Regions from separate parts of the Homo sapiens genome. Here all the other regions are linked to region 3. The links are contacts of gene promoters, found by promoter capture Hi-C in blood cells and fetal thymus (Javierre and others, 2016). All regions are on one chromosome and are shown on one strand. The core of a region is centred on a gene start or on the middle of the fragment in contact, and the rest is flanking DNA. Distances in the headings are between cores, read along the strand shown.

Region 1 (2,901 bases), core at 192-2,691, 140 kb after region 3:
AGAAGTCAACCTGGCCGGGCGCAGTGGCTCACACCTGTAATCCCAGCACTTTGGGAGGCCGAGGCAGGCGGATCACGAGGTCAGGAGTTTGAGACCAGTCTGGCCAACATAGTGAAACGCCATCTCTACTAAAAATACAAAAAATTAGCCAGATGTGGTGGTGTGCACCAGTAATCCCAGCTACTCAGGAGGCTGAGGCAGGAGAATTGCATGAACCTGGGAGGCGGAGGTTGCAGTGAGCCGAGATCCCGCCACTGCACTCCAGGCCCGGGCCACAGCATGAGACTCCATCTAAAAAAAAAAAGTCAACCTGAGAGAGAATGATATAACAAACCAATCATGTGCATTTAGCAGTTGTCAAGATTTTGCCACACTTGTTTTGTCCATTCTTTTTTTCTTCCTTTTACTCAAGCAAACCCCAGACATCATGTCATTTCATCAATACATATTTCAAGATATATTTCCTTTTTTATTTTTGAGCAATTTTTGTGTGCGTGCCTCTAAATATTCAGTAGGTTCATTTATTTTGTTTTCAATTTAGGAGTTGCTTTTTCCCACTTTTGGTTAAACTTAGATTTTTAGTTATGTAAACATTCATAGAATTTCAAAATCAGAACTATAAACCTAGATATAGTCACATCAGTTGTGCTTCCATTATGTGTTCTCATCTGTTTCCCTCTATCCCCCTACAAATAACTAATTTTTATTATTCCTTCGGTTGCTGTTTTTTTTTTTTTGAGACAGGGTTTTACTGTGTCCCCTAGGCTAGAGTGCAGTGGCACGATCTTGGCTCATTGCAACCTCTGCTTCCCAGACCCACGAGATCCTCCCACCTCAGCCTCCTGAGTAGCTGGGACTACAGGCGTATGCCACATGCCTGGCTAATTTTTGTAATTTTTGTAAAGAGGAGGTTTCACCATGTTGCCCAGGCTGGTCTTGAACTCCTGGGCTCAAGTGATTTGCCCACCTTAGTTTCCCAAAGTGCTGGGATTACAGGCATGAGCCACCACATCAGCTATTCTGTTGCTTCTTTTAAAAAAATATTTTCTAAATAGCCAGCATACTATGAACACTGTTCTGCACTATTCTTTTTAAATGATTTATCCTGGAGGTTATTCCATATCAGTGTACTGAGAGAGTCCTGATTTCTTTTTAATAGCTACATAATATTCCATTAGCCAATTTGCCTAATTGATGGATATTTAGGTTGTTTCCTTTTTTTGTTACTATAAATAATGGTACAGTCTTAACTTTGACCATGAGGCATTTATATTTTTTTTCAGTGTGTCTTTGATATTGTTTCCTACAAGAGGAAATGCATATGTAATTTTGCTGGATACTATGGGATTAGCCTGTCTTGCAATTGTACCATTTTGCATTCCAAACAACCGTATGTGAGAATGCCTGTTTTTCTGCAACCTCAGTAAGGAAGTTGTCTAACTTTTGTATTTTTACCAAGTTTTTTCTGTTTTGAGATAGGGTCTTGCTCTGTTGCCCAGGCTGATGTACAGTGGTACAATCATAGCTCACTGCAGCCTTGAACTCCTGGGCTCAAGGGATTCTCCTGCCTTAGCCTTTCAAATAACTAGGACTACAGGTGCATGCCAAGATGCCTGGCTAATTTTTATTTTATTTTATTTTATTTTTATTTTTTTGTAGAGACAAGGTCTTGCCAGTCTTGAACTCCTGGCTTCAAGTGATCCTCCTTCCTCCTCCCAAAGTAGTGAGATTACAGGCATGAGCCACTGTGCATGACTGGCGTTTGCTCTTCTCGATGTTTGGGAATGTTCTACAGATTATAGATATTTGCTGTTTATGAAAAAATTTGCAAGTACCTTTTCCTCATTTGTTAATTAGAATTACCTCATTAAAAAAATCAAGGTAGAAGTATAATTTACAAACACATTACATTCACACATTTTAGAGCACAGTGCAAGAAGTATATGTATATAATTGTGTAACCCACCATGACCACAATCAAGATTAGTTCCTGTCATTTGCCTTTGGACTCTGCTTATTGCATTCTATTTTGCCATGAAGTTGTGCTTTGTTTTGGAGACAGAGTCTCACACTCTGTTACCCAGACTGGAGTGCAGTAGAGCTATCTCAGCTCACTGCAACCTCCGCTTCTGGGGTTCAAGCAATTCTCCTGCCTCAGCCTCCCAAGTAGCTGGGACTATAGATACATAACACCATGCCTGGCTAATTTTTGTATTTTTAGTAGAGACAGGGTTTTGCCATGTTGCCCAGCTGGTCTTGAACTCCTGGCCTGAAATTATCTGCCCACCTCAGCCTCCCAAAGTGCTGGGATTACAGGCATGAGCTGTGCCTGGCTGAAGTTGTGTTTTTTTAGCTGCTACATCCATGACTTAATGTAAACAGGTTCTTTCAACAAATATCTCATAATTCTCTTCTGTGTTTTAAACAAACAGATTATATAGGCCTAATGTATATTCTAGCTGGGGATATGAGGACACATTATTATAACTAGTATAAATTAACTTCTTTCTGTTAAAGGAACCTCTAAGGTAAAATTTTGAAATCCTGTAGCAAAGCTGAATAGGATTGCTCCTTTTTATTTGAAGGGTCATGGGGCAAGCAGGCGGATCACCTGAGGTCAGGAGTTCAAGACCAGCCTGGCCAACATGGTGAAAGCCCATCTCTACTAAAAATACAAAAATTAGTCAGGTGTGGTGTCAGGTGCCTGTAATCCCAGCTACTCAGGAGGCTGAGGCAGGAGAATCACTTGAACCCAGGAGACAGAAGTTGCAGTGAGCCTAGATCACACTACAGCACTCCAGCCTGGGCGACAGGGTGAGACTCTGTCTCAAAAAAAAAAAAAAAAAAAAAAAAGCAGGGGAGGGCCATGGCTGGGCGTGGTAGCTCACACCTGTGATCATA
Region 2 (2,890 bases), core at 226-2,725, 230 kb after region 3:
GAGCACCCTAGAAGACCTGGATTAAAGTGGAACTTGGTCTCTCAACTAGTTGGGTTGTCCTTGGACAAACTGCTTGACCTCTGTAAATCTTCTGTCCTTATCTGTAACGTAGGGGTGCTAATTAGCATTAATTAGCTCATTGTTGGGAGGATTAAATGAGAACACCCCTGTGGAATTACTTAGAGCTCCCAGTAAAGGTTGGAGTTAGGGAGGATTAGCAGGCTTTCATTTGCTTCCACATTTTTTTTCAGCAGTTTAATTTACTGAAACTGGCATAATAATGCCTCCTTGATTAGGTTGTTGGGAGAAGTAAAGGCAATACAAGTTTGGTGCCTGGTATACTTCATCAGGGTGACAAAATGCTGTCATTTGGTCATTTGTGATCATGTCTGCTACTGCATAATGTCATGCACTGGTGGGACTCTTTAGACAGCTAATTATTGGTAAATTCTTCACAGTGAGAAGAGGATTTAACCGATATTTCTCCCTCTAGAGTGTGGGGAGGTAGAGAAGTGGGTGAGACTGGAAGGGTGGGAAGGAGAAGTCTGGCTACTTGTATCTTGGCCTGGGGATTTGTTTGGAAGATGAATTATCCTCTGGTAGTTGTGTACAGTTTACAGGTCAGTGATTAGTATGAGTCCGTGAATAGTGCCAGTTAATACTGATTAACTGCTGTACTTTTTGCCAATAAATATTGTAAAGCTATAAAGACAACAGAGTTAATACAAGTTGCTAAAGAGAAACTTGTGGTAAATGTCTTTAAATGTTGTTTAAAATAGAAATGGCCAATCTAGCAGGCATGCTGAGGAAATGATGTTTTTGCAGAAGGGAAATTTAGCAATGACAGTTTTGCAGAATATATTGGTAATGAAGTGTTACTTGTAGCTGCTGACAAATTAGTTTTCTTAAAAAATATATCCCCTAGGAAGACTGTAGTATGAAAGAATGAGAACCGTAATTGGTGGATGAGCCTGGAGAGTTTGAAGGTAAGAGAGAAAGAGAAGCAGCGAGGGAGAGAAGGAGAGAGAGAGAGAGAGAGAGTGAGTGTGTGTGTGTGTGTGTGTGTGTTTCAAGGTAACATGCAAGAACAATAAGGTTCTTCTTGTGTGGTTGTAATTTTTTTTTTTTTTTTTTTGAGACAGGGTCGCACTCTGTCACCCAGGCTAGAGCATAGTGGCATAATTATGGCTCACTACAGCCTCGACCTCTGGGCTGAGGTGATGCTCCCACCTCAGCCTCCTAACTAGCTGCGACTACAGGTGTGCACCACTGTGCCCAGCTAATTTTTGTATTTTTTGTAGAGATAGAGTTTCCTCATGTTGCCCAGCCTGGTCACAATCTCCAGGGCTTAAGCTCTGCCGTCCTTGGCCTCTCAAAGTCCTGGGATTGCAGGCTTCCACCACCGTGCCCGGCCCTTGTGTGGAATTTTTAAAAAATCCTGACTTATCTGTTTGTTTGTTTGTTTGTTTTTTTTTTTTGAGACAGAGTTTTGCTCTTGTTGCCCAGGCTGGAGTGCAATGGCGTGATCTCAGCTTACCACAACCTCTGCCTCTCACGTTCAAAGTGATTCTCCTGCCTCAGCCTCCCAAGTAGCTGGGTTTACAAGCGTGCGCCACCATGCCCAGCTAATTTCGTAATTTTAGTAGAGACAGGGTTTCTCCATTTTGGTCAGGGTGGTATTGAACTCCCAACCTCAGGTGATCCGCCCACCTCAGCCTCCCAAAGTGCTGGGATTACAGGCGTGAGCCACTGCGCCCGGCCTATCCGCACTTTTTTTTATGATTGCTCACATGTGACATGTCTTGTTTTTCTTCTAGGATGTTGAGAAAGAGAAGGAAACCCACAGTTACCTCAGCAAAGAGGAGATCAAAGAGAAAGTTCATAAATACAACTTAGCAGTCACAGACAAGTTGAAGATGACCTTGGTAAGCACTCAAAATACTATTTAGGTTGACACCTGTCAAAAGACAAATATAAATTGTTGGTACTACAATCTATAGTTCTAAATATCTGAATAGCATTTGTAGAAGTGTAGTAGTCAAGGTATACAGAACAGGAAAGTGGAATATTTCTGTGGCTTTCCATTTAAATCTGTATTGTGAAGTAGCTTTGTCTCAAAAATCAGTTGCTGGGTTAACCTTAAAAAAGTGAAACACTTATAATTTTATTTTAAAAGATTTTGTGACCCACCCCTCCCTCCTCAAAGGATTTTTAGCATCATTGCCTAACATACAGAAATGGTGACTCAGATTCTAAGAAGACCTCAGGTAAGGTTTTTTGTTTTGTTTTGTTTTGAAACAAGGTTTTGCTCTGTCACCTGGGCTGGAGAGCAGTGGCACGATCACCGCTCACTGCAGCCTCGACCTCCGGGCTCAAGTAATCCTCCCACCTCAGCCTCCCGAGTAGCTGGGACCACAGGTGCTTGCCACCATGCCCAGCTAATTTTTGTATTTTTTGTAGAGACGGGGTTTTGCCATATCACCCAGGCTCATCTCAAATTCCTTGGCTCAAGGGATCTGCCCAGCTTGGCCTCCCAAAGTGCTGGGATTACAGGTATCAGAAGCCCCTAAGTTTTTGTCTTGTACAAAATAAATATGGAAGTGTCAGGGAAAGGATTTTGAGCCCATGGATTGGAATATAGAGGTATATAATAGGATAGTTTTCTCTGCCGGTCGTTAGTGTAAGACAAGGTACTTAATACTCAGTTTCTTCCACGTCGCTGTCGCAGGCTTCCACAGCATTGTGCCACACTGAAGCATGCAGGGAGTCGGCGTACAGGAGGGAGAAGCCTCAGGGCCTGGGGATAGGGAAACGAGCTGACAGCGGAGCTAGAGTATTCATGTTCCTCTAAACTTAGCTGGCATCTAGGTCTCGCCTACCCATTGGGTGG
Region 3 (2,792 bases), core at 200-2,699:
AATTACCTTATTTCCAAAAGCAAGTACTCAAATAATTGTCTCAAGAGAGGAAGGACAAAACTGTTACAAGCTGAAATATTTGGGGATTTGTTTGACTTGACTAGGGAACCACAAGTTTTCATATAATGCCTGATTTAGCCCTGTGCCTAACAGTTTAAATCTTAATGCTAATGTTAATTGCTTCCCAGTTGGTTGACCTTATAAGAAAACACTGTGTGGTATTTTAATGTGGTAAACATGTGAATGAAGGCCTGTGGCTCAGTTAATCACTCCCACAACTTTGAGCTGTGAGTTTTACTGGTGGAAGGAACTTTAACAGGTCTTCGCTCTTGTCATTAGATATCAAAGAACTGAAATTAGTTGGAATTGTAAGCAGTGAATAGATGTGTTGTTAGAATGATTCCATCACTTATACATTGTTTAAAATGCTAATAAAGTAACTTGCTTTGTAAGAATTCATTAGAGTGGACTTTTGTTATCTCCATTGTGCATTTGATAAAACTGAGGCTTAGAGAGGTAAGAGATTAGCTTTTAAGTCAGTAATTGGCAGCCGAGACAGCAACCCTAGGTCTGTTACATTCAAAAGCCTCTGAGCCACTCCGCATGACTTCCCATTCATTCGTGTTTGCTGCTGCTACTCTGGGAAACACCATCTTCCTCTTCCCCTCCACTCAGAAATTTAGCCCTAGATTAGCAGCGGTCTCTGCTCCCTCATGTTGAGAAAGGCCTGTTGTGCTGTCCGTGGGCAGAAGGGACCCCTTCAGAAAGCTATTCCTTATTGGGAATAGCGGCTTGAGATTTTGACTGCACGAATATTGCAGGACCTAATTTTAGTATTTAAGTTTTAGTTCTTAAATTCTTAAGTTTAGAGTTAGATACTCCAATACGGCCGTTTTCCAAAATACCGAGAGGGAATTAAATGAACATTTTTACATTAAGAATTTAATGTATTTCTGGGTGATGGGAAAATGAAAAAAACAATGTAAAGTCTGAATTACTGCGAGACGATAATCTGGCTCCACTGCAGCCAAAGTGGGCCCTTAAAACATAGAATCCATCCCTCCCAGCTCTGCCGGCCGTCTGTGCCTGCCCCCCACGTGTCCCACGTTCTGCACACCTGTAAATCTTGGGATGTAATCCCTTGCTCAGCGTCGGTCCGCCCTACTGTCGGCCAGCGCTCGGGGAAGGGGCGGGATTTGCAGTTGCGGGAATCCCAATTACTGTGTTCGCTGCTCAGGGCTCCTCATTCCCCTTTAGAGTAAAGGGCGAGGGCAACAGTGGACGGGGTGTCTCCAGACATCCCCCTCATTACCGTGGCCGCGGAAGCCGACTCGGCAGTTGCCGCCGCGGCTGTGGTGACTACCAGACGGGCCATAGGCGTGCGCACGCGCACCCGCACCGGCGCGCCGGCCGTCGGTCACGTGGCCTCCGGCCAGGGCTTGCGAAGCCGGAAGTGTCCTGAGTCTCGAGGAGGCCGCGGGAGCCCGCCGGCGGTGGCGCGGCGGAGACCCGGCTGGGTAAGTGAGACGGCCGCGGGCTGAGGGGCCAAGGCGGCGCGGGGCGCGGTCGGTCAGGCCTGCGCCGCCCGGCGGGGAGCGCTCCCGCCCCCTGTGGGAGGCTGGGATGCTGAGTCAGAGCGGGGGCGGGGGCGGGCGCACCGAGAAGCCCCGGACGACCCGAGGCCAAGCCATCCAGGACCCCGGCTGCGTGGACACTGCCTCTGGGGTGTGTGTCGGGTGGCCGTAGCCGGTGGAATGGTCGCGCGGGCCCTGTTACCTGCATCCCCGCTCCGCGCCGCGCGGCCGGTCCTCGACCTGCATCCCGTCCGGCGGCTTTGGGCATAAAGAGGACGACTCCGTTACCGGGCCTGGGCCCTGGCTGCCTGGGGAGGCAGGGGCACCTCTTTCCCTTAGACTCGCTGTTTTCTACCCTCTTTCCGAGCGTCGACACAACGGGCAGTTTTTAAATGTATTGATTTTTCAGAGGATTAAAAAGAGACGTTTCCTTAGAGTTTTAGTGATGTTCAGTCCGCAGAGGTTGACTCACACCGGAAATTAGAAGCATAAGATGTTTTAAATATATGCCGATGAAATACGAATTCCCAGACATTTCCTTGCTCCTCGTCTACCTGGCTTATGGGTTTAATTTGTAATCTCTATCCCAAGTATTCTTAGTAGGTGGCCTCAAAACAACTCCCAAGTAATTGCCAAATGTATAACCAAAGACTGGTCTTTTCCACTCTGAAACCCCAGTGTATGAATCACATAGGGGCAGAGTTTAGAAATCCTGGAACTTTGTCCATAGGCCATGTCGTCAAACCTGTTTTCATCCCTCAACAAATAGTAACTTTCGTTTTGGACGGTGTAAGGAAGTAGGCTGAAGACGGCATCATCAGCAACATAGTTGTTGAGTGTCTGCTTATATGCTTGTCAAAAATTTGGGAAGATTTATATGGCAAGCACGTTGTGGGTGTGCTGAGTCATGTTTTAACATGTTATTGTGGAGTTATTGGAAGATAATTTCAAAAGACATTTCCCCTGACCACTATTGTGATTACTGTTAAATAGAAACCATAGTTTTGTATTTGCATAGAGAACAGATATCTTAGCTGATAAATATTTTTCTTATTATCCTGAAGGTACATACATATAGGTACCTAATGGTACTATTTGCCATTTACAGTTACATTGATTAGGGAAGGTTTTTCGTTAGATAGTTGAGACGTTTGTTATTGTATCGTGAGTGAAATGTAATGACTGGCAAATGTGTATTCCTTATTTGTGAAAAGGGAA

Evidence for each region. The method cuts DNA at HindIII sites, captures the fragments that hold promoters and counts their contacts. A CHiCAGO score of 5 or more calls a contact.
Region 1: a contact is called between a fragment that was not itself captured here and the fragment with the promoter of TBK1 in region 3, in 1 of 17 cell types (non-activated CD4 T cells). The highest score is 5.2, in non-activated CD4 T cells.
Region 2: a fragment that was not itself captured here is called in contact with the fragment with the promoter of TBK1 in region 3 in 5 of 17 cell types (activated CD4 T cells, total CD4 T cells, non-activated CD4 T cells and 2 more); the score reaches 9.7 in activated CD4 T cells.

Annotation. Positions count from the first base shown.
Region 1 is chr12:64,591,183-64,594,083 of GRCh38, forward strand. It overlaps a transcript of RASSF3 not described here. Among named protein-coding and RNA genes, the nearest start is that of RASSF3-DT, 17 kb to the right of the region's middle. The HindIII fragment of the contact is 6,136 bases long and covers 1-2,901 here.
Region 2 is chr12:64,682,970-64,685,859 of GRCh38, forward strand. It overlaps RASSF3 (Ras association domain family member 3), which reads left to right. Exons shown (of 5, transcript NM_178169.4): 2 at 1,818-1,925. Among named protein-coding and RNA genes, the nearest start is that of MIR548Z, 62 kb to the left of the region's middle. The HindIII fragment of the contact is 6,808 bases long and covers 1-2,890 here.
Region 3 is chr12:64,450,671-64,453,462 of GRCh38, forward strand. It overlaps TBK1 (TANK binding kinase 1), which reads left to right and starts at 1,450. Exons shown (of 21, transcript NM_013254.4): 1 at 1,450-1,517. XPOT (exportin for tRNA) reads left to right here. Exons shown (of 25, transcript NM_007235.6): 25 at 1-455. RefSeq lists a silencer at 1,321-1,790. The HindIII fragment of the contact is 9,573 bases long and covers 1-2,792 here.